Linked DNA regions of Homo sapiens: region 2 is linked to region 1. The links are contacts of gene promoters, found by promoter capture Hi-C in human tissues and cell types (Jung and others, 2019). All regions are on one chromosome and are shown on one strand. Each heading gives the region's core, a stretch centred on a gene start or on the middle of the fragment in contact. The rest is flanking DNA. Distances are from core to core; before and after follow the strand shown. Region 1 holds the start of KIF2C (kinesin family member 2C). Region 2 overlaps EIF2B3 (eukaryotic translation initiation factor 2B subunit gamma).

The links. Contacts are between HindIII fragments. The study calls those that stand out against the background at their distance.
Region 2: a fragment that was not itself captured here is called in contact with the fragment with the promoter of KIF2C in region 1 in 1 of the 25 tissues and cell types used here (aorta).

Annotation. Positions count from the first base shown.
Region 1 is chr1:44,736,117-44,742,656 of GRCh38, reverse strand. KIF2C (kinesin family member 2C) reads right to left here and starts at 2,820. Exons shown (of 21, transcript NM_006845.4): 1 at 2,655-2,820; 2 at 1,650-1,744. The coding sequence starts at 2,724. RefSeq lists an enhancer at 3,000-3,169. The HindIII fragment of the contact is 13,379 bases long and covers 1-6,540 here.
Region 2 is chr1:44,946,940-44,953,656 of GRCh38, reverse strand. The region is part of intron 3 of EIF2B3 (eukaryotic translation initiation factor 2B subunit gamma); the gene reads left to right. Among named protein-coding and RNA genes, the nearest start is that of EIF2B3, 36 kb to the left of the region's middle. The HindIII fragment of the contact is 3,505 bases long and covers 2,709-6,213 here.

The DNA.
Region 1 (6,540 bases), core at 1,571-4,070:
ACCTCTGCCTCCCAGGTTCATGTGATCCTCCTGCCCCAGCTTCCCAAGTAGCTGGGATTACAGGCCCGTGCCACCACACCCAGCTAATTTTTGTATTTTTAGTAGAGATGGGGGTTTCGCTATGTTGGCCAGGCTGGTCTCAAACTCCTGATCTCAAGTGATCCGCCCACCTCGGCCTCCCAAAGTGCTGGGATTACAGGCATGAGCCACTGCGCCTGGCTGCAGTTTGCTTTCTACAAACATACCAGAGCCGGGCATGGTGGCTCACGCCTGTAATCCCAGCACTTTGGGAGGCAGAGGCAGGCGGATCACGAGGTCAGGAGATCGAGACCATCCCGGCTAACACAGTGAAACCCCATCTCTACTAAAAATACAAAAAATTAGCCGGGCGTAGTGGCGGGCACCTGTAGTACCAGTTACTCGGGAGGCTGAGGCAGGAGAATGACGTGAACCCGGGAGGCGGAGCTTGCAGTGAGCTGAGATCTCGCCACTGCACTCCAGCCTGGGTGACAGAGTGAGACTCTGTCTCAAAACAAACAAACAAACAAACAAAAAAAACCCAGAAAATTATTGATTGCTTCAATTTAGAATGGACCTGACTAAATAAAATCCCAATGCATCTGGAAGGGGACCATTCTTTTTTTTTTTTTTTTTTTTTTTGAGACAAGTCCTCATTCTGTTGCCCAGGAGGCTGGAGAGCAGTGGTGCAATTTCAGCTCACTGAAACCTGTGCTTTCCCAGACTCCAGCAATTCTCCAGCCTCAGCCTCCAGAGCAGCTGGGACCACAGGCATGCACCACCATGCCCGGCTAATGTTTTTTGTATTTTTTGTAGAAATGAGGTTTTGTCATGTTGCCCAGCCTGGTCTTGAACTGCTGAGCTCAAAGCGATCTGCCCACCTCGGCCTCCCAAAGTGCTGGGATTATACATGTGAGCCACTGTGCCCAGCCAAGAAGACCATTTTTATTTTTTGAGGAAAGGTCTCACTCTGTCGCCCAGGCCAGAGTGCAGTGGCTCGATCATGGTTCAGTGCAGCCTCAACCTCCCAGGCTAAATCAATCCTCCCACCTCAGCTTCCCGAGTAGCTGGAACCACAGGCGTGAGCCACCACACCCTGATAATTTTTAATTTTTTTGTAGAGACAAGGTCTCAACATTTTTCCCAGGCTGGTCTCGAACTCCTGAGCTCAAGCAATCCTCCAGACCAGGCCTCTCAAAGTGTCGGGATTAGAGGCAAGAGCCACCGCACCCAGCCAATTTTTTTTTTTTTTTTTTTTTGAGACAGATTCTCACTGTCACCCAGGCTGGAGTGCAGCGGCACAGTTTCGGCTCACTGCAACCTCCGCCTCCCAGGTTCAAGCAGTTCTCCTGCCTCAGGCTCCCAAGTAGTTGGGATTACAGGCATGCACTACCACGACTGGCTAATTTTTGTATTTTCAGTAGAGACAGGTTTCGCCATGTTGGCCAGGATGGTCTCGAACTCCTGACATCAGGTGATCTGCCCGTCTCAGCCTCCCAAAGTTCTGGGATTACAGGCGTGAGTGAGAAGAGCACAGCATCAGAAACTAGGCTCTCACAGATTCCACTTCTGCACAGATCCTTTATGTAGGAAGACATTAAATGTGGTAGAGGAATTCTCATAGAACCTACCTCTTTGCCCTTTGTGGCACCTCCTTCTGCCCATTCCACTGAAACACAGGATTTCTCCAAGTTCACAGTCCTTACATTGGCACTGTGAATTAAACCTATAAAGTATGAAAAAACCAGAGTTACCCATCTCTTTCCTGAGAGCTTCACTTTTAGGATTCCACAGAGATTCCCAAAGTGGAGTTAACCTGAAGGAACAGGCAGCTACCTTAAAAAAAAAAAAAAAAAAAACTAAGAGAAACAAATAAATCTCCTGGGCTTCACCTTTAGAATATCCACAGTGAGGTGGGCTGGGGACAGGTTTTTAAACTGAGCTGCATGGGATAAGGATTCACCCCTACTCAAGAGAGCCTACAAAAAAAGAGAGATAGAGCCTACAAAAGAGAACATACAAAAGGTATGTTTGAGCACAGGATTCCCCACAACCCTTAGATGAACTTTTCCTCAACATAGCATTGAGGATCTGGCCCTTTTGGGGTTTTCCTAACTCATTTCTGGCGGTCATATCTGTCCATTTCCCTAATGACACGGGTATCAGACCTGCCAGAACTGCGGTACCTGCTTAAGCAAAAGAGAGAACGACTACAAGCTCCTCAAGCGCAGGGTTCTTGTCTGTCCCGTTTACCTGACATACCGCAACTGCGCAATATTTATTCGAGAGTAAAGGGGCCAGGAGACCGAGGTCCCCATAAGAGCAGGGCATTTTCAGGGGAGAATTTTGGAAGGGAAGTGAATTTAGAAGTCCCAACTTCCCTGGGAGGTCTACCAGCCTTGGAGAAGGTCCGCCCACTCCCAGAGGACTGCGAAAGGGACCACGTACAGCGCAGGGACTCTCACCCCTGTGTAGGCAAGAATGACTGCCAGTGCAGAGACCCGGAGTGAGTGCGTGTGAAAAGGAGGGAGGGAGAGAAAGAGAGTGAAAGCCCATCTGTGTGTCCGGGGACGGGCAGTAATTTCAGTCGTCTCACCGCTCACGAGTCCCCTTGACCTAGGGACCCCGCTCCTCACCATTACTGCGTTGGATCTTGATAGCGAGACCGGGAAACAGGCGGGCCTGAAGCGACGAGTCCATGGCCATTCGGAGAGTCAGCAAGGAAGAGAAACGCGCAATACCAAGAAACCTCAATTTCGCTAACCCTACGAAGTCTTAACGCCGCGTAAACCGCCGCAGTTTAAATCCCGCGCGCAAGCGTCCTTAAAACGTCATTCCGCTGTCCCCGCCCTCGCTTCCGCCAGTCAGCGGCGCCCTGCGGAGCCTTGGGGGAGACGCAGTTCCCAACCATCTTCCTACGCTTGGCACCGCCCATGCGTCTGGCCACACCCCCGAGCGCTGTGCCTTCTGGGAACTTCGCCGCTACGTGGGGTCTGGGGCTCCCATTTCTGGTATTGTCCTCGGTCACCTTGTACTGCGGGGTTCCCGAAAACTGGGAAACTTCAGTATGTATTTGACAATGAGGGCTCTGGGATCCTACAGACATGGGTTCGAATCGTAGCTTCTTCAATTGCAAGTTCAGTGACCTCGAGCAAGTTGGAGACTTGGCCGGGCGCGGTGGCTCACTCCTGTTAATCCCAACACTTAGGAAGGGAGAGGTGGGAGTGATCGCTCGAGATCAGAAGTTCGAGACCAGACAGGGCAACATAGCCAAGACCCTGTTCTCAAAGCAAAACAAAACCACAGATTAGAAACTTGACTTAGTTTTTCTTATTAAATAGTGCAGAAGCATGTTGCCTCATTCAAGGAGTTATGTATAAATTTCCAGAAAGACACTGATTCACCAGATATTTATTGAGTGAAGTCTACCACCTGCTAGGCATGGTACCAGGAAATGGAGATAATGAACTAGACACATAGTTCCTGTCCTCCTTTTTTTTTTTTTCCATTTAACCCTTAGTGGACACAGCACATGTTTCAGAGAGCACGGGGTTGGGGGTAAGGTTATAGATTAACAGCATCCCAAGGCAAAAGAATTTTTCTTAGTACAGAACAAAATGGAGTCTCCTATGTCTACTTCTTTCTACACAGACACAGTAACAATCTGATCTCTCTTTCTTTTCCCCACATTTCCCCCTTTTCTATTCGACAAAACCGCCATCGTCATCATGGCCCGTTCTCAATGAGCTATTGGGTACACCTCCCAGATGGGGTGGCGGCGGGGCAGAGGGGCTCCTCACTTCCCAAATGGGGCAGCCGGGCAGAGGCGCCCCCCCCCCCCACCTCCCAGACAGGGCGGCGGCTGGGAGGGGGCTGCCCCCCACCTCCCAGACGGGGCGGCTGGCCGGTCGGGGGCTTTCCCCCCACCTCCTGGACGGGGCGGCTGCCGGGAGGAGACGCTCCTCATCTCCCGGACGGGGCGGCTGCCGGGCAGAGTGGCTCCTCACTTCTCAGACGGGGCGGCCAGTCAGAGACGATCCTCACCTCCCAGACAGGGTGGCGGCGGGGCAGAGACACTCCTCAGTTCCCAGACGGGGTCGCGGCGGGGCAGAGGCGCTCCCCACATCCCAGACGATGGGCGGCCGGGAAGAGACGCTCCTCACTTCCTAGACCGGGTGGCGGCCGAGCAGAGGCTGCAATCTCGGCACTTTGGGAGGCCAAGGCAGGCGGCTGGGAGGTGGAGGTTGTAGCGAGCCGAGATCACGCCACCGCACTCCAGCCTGGGCAACATTGAGCACTGAGTGAGCGAGACTCCGTCTGCAATCCCGGCACCTCGGGAGGCCAGGGCTGGCAGATCACTCGCGGTCAGGAGCTGGAGACCAGCCCGGCCAGCACGGTGAAACCCCATCTCCACCAAAAAATACGAAAACCAGTCAGGTGCGGCGGCGCGCGCCTGCAATCCCAGGCACTCGGCAGGCTGAGGCAGGAGAATCAGGCAGGGAGGCTGCAGTGAGTCGAGATGGCGGCAGTACAGTTCAGCCTCGGCTTGGCATCAGAGGGAGACCGGGGAGAGGGGGAGGGGGAAAGGGAGAGGTTTTTTTTTTTTTTAATTAGAGACAGTGTCTTGCTATGTTGCCCAGGCTGGTCTTGAACTCCTGGGCTCAAAGATCCTCCCTCCTTAACCTCCCAAAGTGCTAGGATTACATGTGTGAACCACCAAGCCCGGCCTCCTGTTCTTGACGATCTGCCTGCCTCAGCCTCCCAAAATGCTGGTATTACAGGCATGAACCACTGTGCCTGGCCAGGAAAGGTCTTGTTTGAAGAACTGATGACTGGAAGGCAGTGGGGGAGAGGAGCATCAGAAGAAGTTGAAGAGGTGGGGAGGGGCAAAATCATAGAGCATCTTGTGGCCTGTAGTAATAATTTTGGCTTTTATGCTAATGAGAAGTCATTGAAAAGTTTTAAGCAGGGGACTAACATGATCTGATTTACATTTTACTTTTTTTTTTTTTTTTTTTTGAGACAGAATTTCACTCTTGTTGCCCAGGCTGGAGTGCAATGGTGCGATCTCGGCTCACCACAACCTCTGCCTCCCAGGTTCAAGCAATTCTCCTGCCTCAGCCTCCAAAGTAACTGGGATTACAGAGATGCACCATCATGCCCGGCTAATTTTGTATTTTTAGTAGAGACGGGGTTTCACCATGTTGGTCAGGCTGGTCGTGAACTCCCGACCTCAGGTGATCCGCCCACCTCGGCCTCCTAAAGTGCTGGGATTACAGGTGTGAGCCACTGCGCCCAGCCTACATTTTACTTTTATGTCAGTCAAACTTGCTATTGTGTGGAGAGTAGATTTGAAAGGGGCAAGACAGAAGGCAGAGACCGCTTAGTAGGCAAGAGATTATGCTGGCATAGGCCAGGGTAGTGATACTGGATTGGAAGTATGGCTGAAAGAACTGATTCAAGATACCCCATGTTTGGGAAGTGAAGTGAATGGGTTTTGCTGATGAGTTGGATGTGAATGACAGGGGTGGTCATGGATGACTCCTGGTTTCTGGCTAGAGCACCTGGCTGGATGATGGACCATGTCCTGAAAAGGGAAAGTGGGATTGTGAAGGAATGAGTTGGGGGTTAAGTCCAGGGTTTCATTTTGTTCATTTTGAATTTGAGATGTCTACAAGACATCTGAGTGTAGGTGTCAACTGAGCAGTTGGATATACAAACTGGGAGCTAAGGTAGAGGTCAAAGCAAGAGATTGAGATTTGGCAGTCTGCATTATGTAGATGGTATTTGGAGTCATGAGCTGAATACTATCTAGGAAAAGAATATAGATGGAGATGAGAGGAACATGTATAATTGAGCCATGGGACTTGCCAATATTTTGAGGTAGGGCAGGGGAGGAGGAGCCAGCAAAGGAGATGGGATTAGGGTGGTTTGAAGGGATGAAGAAAACAAAAGAGTTGGGGGGAGTTCCTTAGAAGTCAAGGGATGGAATGAAGAAGGTGAAAGTAACTCTGAAGAGCTACTCAAGAGGCCAAATAAGATGAGGACATTCTAGTATCCTTTGGATTTATTAGCACCTAAGTCATTGCTGACCTTGTGCAGTCTTGGTGAACTATTGAGGGTGAGAACCAGACTAGAGAGACAAGAATAGATGGAATATTGTTTAGGGATATGCTGTGGTTTGAATGAGTCCCCCAAATTTTATGTGCTGGAAACTTAATCCCCCAATTCACATATTGATGGCATTTGGAGGTGGGGCCTTTGGGAGGTAATTAGGATTAATAAAGTCATCAGGATGGGGCCCTGTGATGGAATTGGTAGCTTTATAAGAAGAAGAAGAGAGACTTGAGCTGACACGCTCTTGCCCTGTCACTATGTTATTGCTCTCTGCCATGTTATAATGCAGCAAAAAGGCCCTCACAAGATCCAAGCACCATGCTCTTGGACTTCTCAGCCTCCAGAACCATGAATGAAATAAATTTATGTTCATTATAAATTACCCAGTCTCCAGTATTTTGTTAT
Region 2 (6,717 bases), core at 3,212-5,711, 210 kb before region 1:
CACACCTGGCTAAATTTTTGTATTTTTTGTAGAGATGGCTAAGTCTTTGTGTTTTTTTCGCCATGTTGCCCAGGCTGATCTCGAACTCCTGGGCTCAAGTGATATGCACACCTTAGCTTCCCAAAGTGCTGGGATTACAGGCGTGAGCCACTGCACCCGGCAAGAACTGATATTAATAAAGAGAATTGGCAAGTTAGGTTCAGTGATGACTTAAACCCTTGCTGGAGTGGTAGGGACAAAAGCCTGATTAGAGAGAATGGGAGAGGAATGAGAAAATGAAGACAGTGAGACAGCTAACTTTTTTTGAGAAATTATGATATGAAGGAAGAAGAAAAACAGGGCAGAAATTGGACCAGAAATTGGACCAGAGTGAGGCTGGTTCTTTTTTTTTTCTTTTTTTTCAATGAAAAATTTCATACCTATAAAAGAATGTGATATAAATAAGTGCTTCCTTGCCCAGCTTATAAAAATAAATTGTGTGTTTTCTGGTTTTTTTTTTTTTTTTACACTTATGGAGGCAAGTTGGGTTTTTTTTAAGGTAGGTATTTTTGTATGTTCTATACTGACGGGAGTGATCCCAAAGAGGAGAGGAATAAATTGATGATAGAGAAAATAAAGCATTCAATTATTCGATTCAACAACTATATTTTTGCTACCTACAAGGAACTAATCACTGTATGATGTATGCTTAGGATGAACAGTGAGTAAAACAAAGTTCCTGCCCTTGTGGCATTTTTAGAGTAGATGAGAGGGACTGTGATCTGGTGCACGAGTGGATGGGTTTCCCTTAAATTGGAGAAAGGACGGCCAGGCGTGGTGGCTCATGCCTGTAATCCCAGCACTTTGGGAGGCCGAGGCGGGCGGATCACGAGGTAAGGAGATCGAGACCATCCTGGCTAACACAGTGAAACCCCGTCTCTACTAAAAATACAAAAAATTAGCCGGGCGTGGTGGCGGGCGCCTGTAGTCCCAGCTACTCGGGAGGCTGAGGCAGGAGAATGGCGTGAACCCGGGAGGCGGAGCTTGCAGTGAGCCGACATCACGCCACTGCACTCTAGCCTGGGTGACAGTGAGGCTCTGTCTCAAAAAAAAAAAAAAAATTGGAGAAAAGACATTTAATTTATTGTACAGGCAGAATGTATAATATGTAATGCATATAGATTAATTAATTTTGTGTCAGAAAGATGTTTGCTGCTTCTAATTGCTTGTATTTTCTTATTGAAATAAGATGTAAAGCCACCAGTTAAGAGTCAGTAGGGCCAGGCTCAGTGGCTTACGCTGGTAATCCCAGCACTTTGGGAGGCCGAGGCAGGTGGATCACCTGAGATCAGGAGTTCAAGACCAGCCTGGCCAAAATGGCGAAACCCCATCTCTACTAAAAATGCAAAAATTAGGGCCGGGCGCGGTGGCTCACGCCTGTAATCCCAGCACTTTGGGAGGCCGAGGCGGGCGGATCACGAGGTCAGGAGATCGAGACCATCCTGGCTAAAACGGTGAAACCCCGTCTCTACTAAAAATACAAAAAAATTAGCCGGGCGTAGTGGCGGGCGCCTGTAGTCCCAGCTACTTGGGAGGCTGAGGCAGGAGAATGGCGTGAACCCAGGAGGCGGAGCTTGCAGTGAGCCGAGTTCCCGCCACTGCACTCCAGCCTGGGCAACAGAGCGAGACTCCGTCTCAAAAAAAAAAAAAAAAAAAAAAAAAATTAGCCAGGCATGGTGGTGCGCCCCTGTAATCCCAGCTACTCGGGAGGCTGAGGTGGGAGAATTGCTTGAACCTGTGAAGCGGAGGCTGCAGTGAGCTGAGATTGAGCCACTGCACTCCAGCCTGGGTGACAGAGCGAGACCCCGTCTCAAAAAAAAAAAAAAGAGGAAGGGAGAAGCTGCTGAAGTTTTAAGGAAGGATGAGAATATATGAAATTATCTCTGAGAATGTAAAAGTTAATTGGCTAGGAAATGTATTGCTGGACAGTGTGAAGGATCCCCTTGAGATTTGGGTTATCAGTTTAAAAGGAGACTAGCCAATGCTGTTACCAGTTTTCTATCCATGTTTAGCTTCTTGGGTTCATATGCAAAGTAGGCAGAGAGTTAGGATATAACTAGCATCTTTACCTGGTGAGTACAAGGGATGAGAGTAGTAAGGAAGACAGTGATGTATATTAAGGAGTATTTATAGTGATGGACCACATAAGCTGTGTAAACGAGACCACCAAAGGAATTAGGGTGCTATAAATCAGTGTAACAAATGGATTGAGGATCCTGTTAGAATCAGAATTGCTGGAGCCAGAGTAAAAAGTCAGTGAGTTGGAAAAATAGAAGGTGGTGATCAGACAATAGGATGTAAGCTTTTTGAGGTCAGGGATTTTTGTTTGTTTGTTCATTGCTGTATCTCTATAATGCCTGGCCATATTCAGGGTTCAATATATGTGTGTCACATGAATTAATATGATATTTTAAAGTGAGATTTTGGAGTTGGTGCAATTTTTGGTAATGCCAAGGAGTAGAGTATAACAAAGTGGTTGAGTGACTAAGGCGAGAAGGAGAAAAAAAATAATTGAACGTGATGAGGTCATGGAGTCTCAGCCATAAGGATGTTAAAGTCACTGAAGTAATTTTTTTAAAAAACAGAGATAAGAAAATAGTCCTAATGTCTTTTTTAAAAAACTCATACTGGTCAGGTGCAGTGGCTTACGCCTGTAATCCCAACACTTCGGGAGGCCAAGGTGGGTGGATCACTTGAGGCTAGGAGTTTGAAACCAGCCTGGCCAACATGGCATAATCCTGTCTCTACTGAAAATACAAAAATCAGCCAGGTGTGGTGACACATGCCTGTAATCCTAGCTACTCTGGAAGCTGAGGCACAAGAATCGCTTGAACCCCAGAGGTGGAGGTTGCAGTGAGCCAAGATCGCACCATTGCACTCCAGTCTGGGCGATAGAGCAAGACTCTTGTCTCAAAAAATAAATAAATAAATAAACACCTTATACTTATTGAAGTTATATGTATATATCATTTAAATAATTCAATATCATTTAATAAATTAATAATTTAATAATTTAAATAATTCAATAGTTCAAGCTTTGTTCCTAAAAATATTAGTCCCCTGACCACCCCCACCCCATATCCCTAACCCGAAAGGTTCTCTTCTTTTAGCTACTTTGTTTTTTATCTGTATGTCTCTAAATAACATGCTAAAATTGTTACTTCTTGAATTTTCTGTTTTGTTTGTTTGTTTTTTAGAAACACGATCTCACTCTGTCACGGGTGCTGGAGTGCAATGGCACAATCATAGCTTACTGCAGCCTGAAACCTGGGCTCAAATGATCCTCCTGCCTCAACCTCTCAAGTAGCTGGGACTACAGGCATGCACCACCATGCCTGGCTAATTTTTAAAATTTTTTGTAGAGATAAGGTCTCGCTATGTTGCCCAGGCTGGTTTCAAACTCCTGGCCTCAAACAGTTCTCCCACCTTGGCCTCCCAAAATGCTGGGGTTACAGGCATGAGCCATTGTGCTCAGCCAACCCTAAGTTTTAAAAAGATTTATTAGTTGTATTTTTTCTCATTGTTATGAACTTCCCTTTAGAGTGAAAGTTTGATTTGGGAGAACAAAAAAAATCTCTTGTTTTTTTCTATTCCAAGTCAGTGCATTTAGAGATGAAAATTAAATTGCATATATCTAAATCCTAGAAGAGACGTGACAGGCATTTTTATAGGGAACTCATTTGAACATAATTAAAAATTAATATAGGTGCTTCTTTCCTAGCTTCACACAGTAAGGAAGAATATAATTCCTCTATTTGTTCTTAATCTGAAGAGGAAAATTTCCTTGGAGGACGTGAATGAATTATGAATATTAGAACCATAAATGTTGAGCCTTCATTTTAAGTTGTAAATCTAGCAAGCATATCATCATTCTTCAGCCGTGCCCTCCAGGACAGCTGCTTTTGACTTCTTTCCTTTCAGACATCTCTGCCTTTTGCTTCTTTGGTAGTAGCAGGTTCATTTCCTACCTTCTTGCATTAGGGAACTGCAAAGTTGTCTCTGTGGCCCCTGTCCTAACTCTGAACAGTCAGTCTCTACAAAGGGAGCATTCACCTCTGTCAGAATGTATACTGTTTCTAAACATTTAAAATCAGATGTTTTAATATTTGAGTCAAATTAAACAAAGAGAAGGAGATAACAGGAAAAGTACTAACATTTACTCATGCGTGTTTGCCAGCACTAGGTTGAACTCTGAATATACAAAGATAAAAGGGCTCCTTATGGAGCTCAAAGTCTAGATGGAAAAAATATATATGTAATCCAATTAGTGATTTAAGGTCTGTAATGGATCAGAAAATGCATCATCTCTAGGGGAGATAATATATCGGCTCTGCCCTTTCTAGTAACTGTGACAAGACCTGAATTTTGATGGATAAATATATAATAGAGTAGGAAGACAGACTAGGGTATACATTCTTGGCAGTCGACTCTATCAAATTAACACTGGCGGCCAGGTGCAGTGGCTCATGCCTGTAATCCCAGCACCTGAGGAAGCCAAGGCAGGAGGATCACTTGAGGTCAGGAGTTTGAGAACTAGCCTGGCCAACATGGCGAAACACTGTCTGTACTAAAAATGTAAAAATTAGCTGGGCATGGTGGCATGTACCTGTAATCCCAGCTACTTGGGAGGCTGAGGCACAAGAATTGCTTGAACCTCGGGGGGCGGAGGTTGCAGTGAGCCGTGATCGTGCCATTTTACTCCAGCCTGGGCAATAGCCTGGGCAATAGAGCGAGACTCTTTCTCAAAAAAAAAGAAAAGAAAAGAAAAGAAAAAGTTAACATTGGCTATGTGGAGGGGAGTTGGGGGAGAGAAGACTGAATTAGGTAGGTGGAGTCATATTTTGAAGACCCTTAAAATCATGCTAAGGAATTCCAACTTAATCTTGTTGAGCAGCAATCTCCAAAATAGGCTGTACTCAAAGCCAGGTGGTGTACAGAATTAAGTACCAGAGGAAAATGTTAGAATTTCTTGTTTTTAAATGTTTTATTTATTCCTTTTTAAATGTCTATCTTTATATATATTATATAAAGAGCATATCATATTATAGTGATCTATATATTTTTTTAAAAATTTTAAGGTAAGTGGCAATAAGTTCAACTTTTTTGATGTTTGGAAAACACTGTTTTAGGGTGTCTTTGAGCAGGGAAAAGACATATGCAGTAGAAATTAGAGTATGGATTAGAATAAGGGAAAACTGGAGCAAGAGAGACACCAGCCAAGAGACTGGAAGAAGATTTTGAGACCTGAACTAAGGCAGTGCAATAGGGGAAGAGTAGGGGACAGGGCAGGAGAGGAAGGACTTCCATCCTGGACTATGGGCGGATTTCTGGCATCAGATTCTGGATGGTAGCAACAGCATGATTAAACTAAGGAATATAGTAAGGATATTTAGCTGTGAGCCCAAGGATTATCACATTTCTTACTTACTGACTGAGTTGGTCATTTCCCTTCCTAGAGCTACTGCCCCAACCTCAGTGAAAACAATGTGGCAGTTGGCCCTTGGCCTTGCACTTTGAGGACTATAGACTGGAATCTTTTCCAAGCATTTTAAACCAAAACTGAGGTCTCCATTGCAGTTAGCCTTTGGTGTTTATTCAAGCACACAAACTATGCCAGGTGCAGTGGCTCATGCATGTAATCCCAGCATTTTGGGAGGCTGAGGCAGGAGGATTGCTTGAGTCCAGGAGTTTGAGACCAGCCTGGGCAATATAGGGAGACCCCTTGTCTAAAAAAAAAGAAAAGAAAAGAAAAAGCACACAAACTACTCTTGGGGATTTGACTGGGATTGGACCACATAGGAAAATGTAAAATGTGACCTTCATAGTCACACCAAGTAGCTGAATTCATGAGTTCCATATGGGCAGGGGTGGCATGCAGGCTGGTGATTTGGATCATAGCCATTATTTGTGGAAGCACTGGGTGAGTAGAGAAGCATGGTAGTTACCTTGCCCTGACAGTTTTTTTCCAAGGGAGTAAATGTGTTTTTCTTTCTCCTTGTCATAAGAAATCGGTTGCCAGATTGTGTTATTTATAACAATCTGTCATGGAACAGCTGCCAGGAAAAGAAAAGAGGCTATTCCCAGTAGCTCTCCTCACCTCCCGCCCCACCACTACAGCCACACACACACACATCCGGTTTTCTGATTTAACCTTTTTTCCCCTCTAATTTTACTCAGTGGTTTTGGCTTGATCGAAAATGTTCTTGTAATGAGAGATTTCTGGGCTTTGCCATGGCTTGGTAATTGGGTTTTCTGAGCTTAATTTGTTTACTTTAGTCAAGACTAACTGGCAGCAGTTTGGATTTTGAATTCCTGGGTGTTTTGGACACTTTAAACACTAAAGTGCTGCCTTCCCTTGAAACCTTGCATGTTTCTATATTGTCAAGAGTGCACACATCTGCTTTCCTTCTGAGTTGTGCTTTCTGCCCTTGACATTGCCCTGGCTTCTCTAGAGGAGCAGGCTTGGGATGAGGCATACCAATGACTGTTGGAATAGTGAGTAGGGAGATCTTTGGAGAGGCCAGTTGGTCTCTGCAGAAGAGGCATACTGTTGGCATTAGAAAAGAAGTGGGTCCATGAAACAAAGGCAGCTGAGTGTTGGCATGTTCAGGGAACTTTAAAATTAACTGCATTTCTGACACACAGTTGCTTCACAGTCCAAACAGTCCATGTTTATTC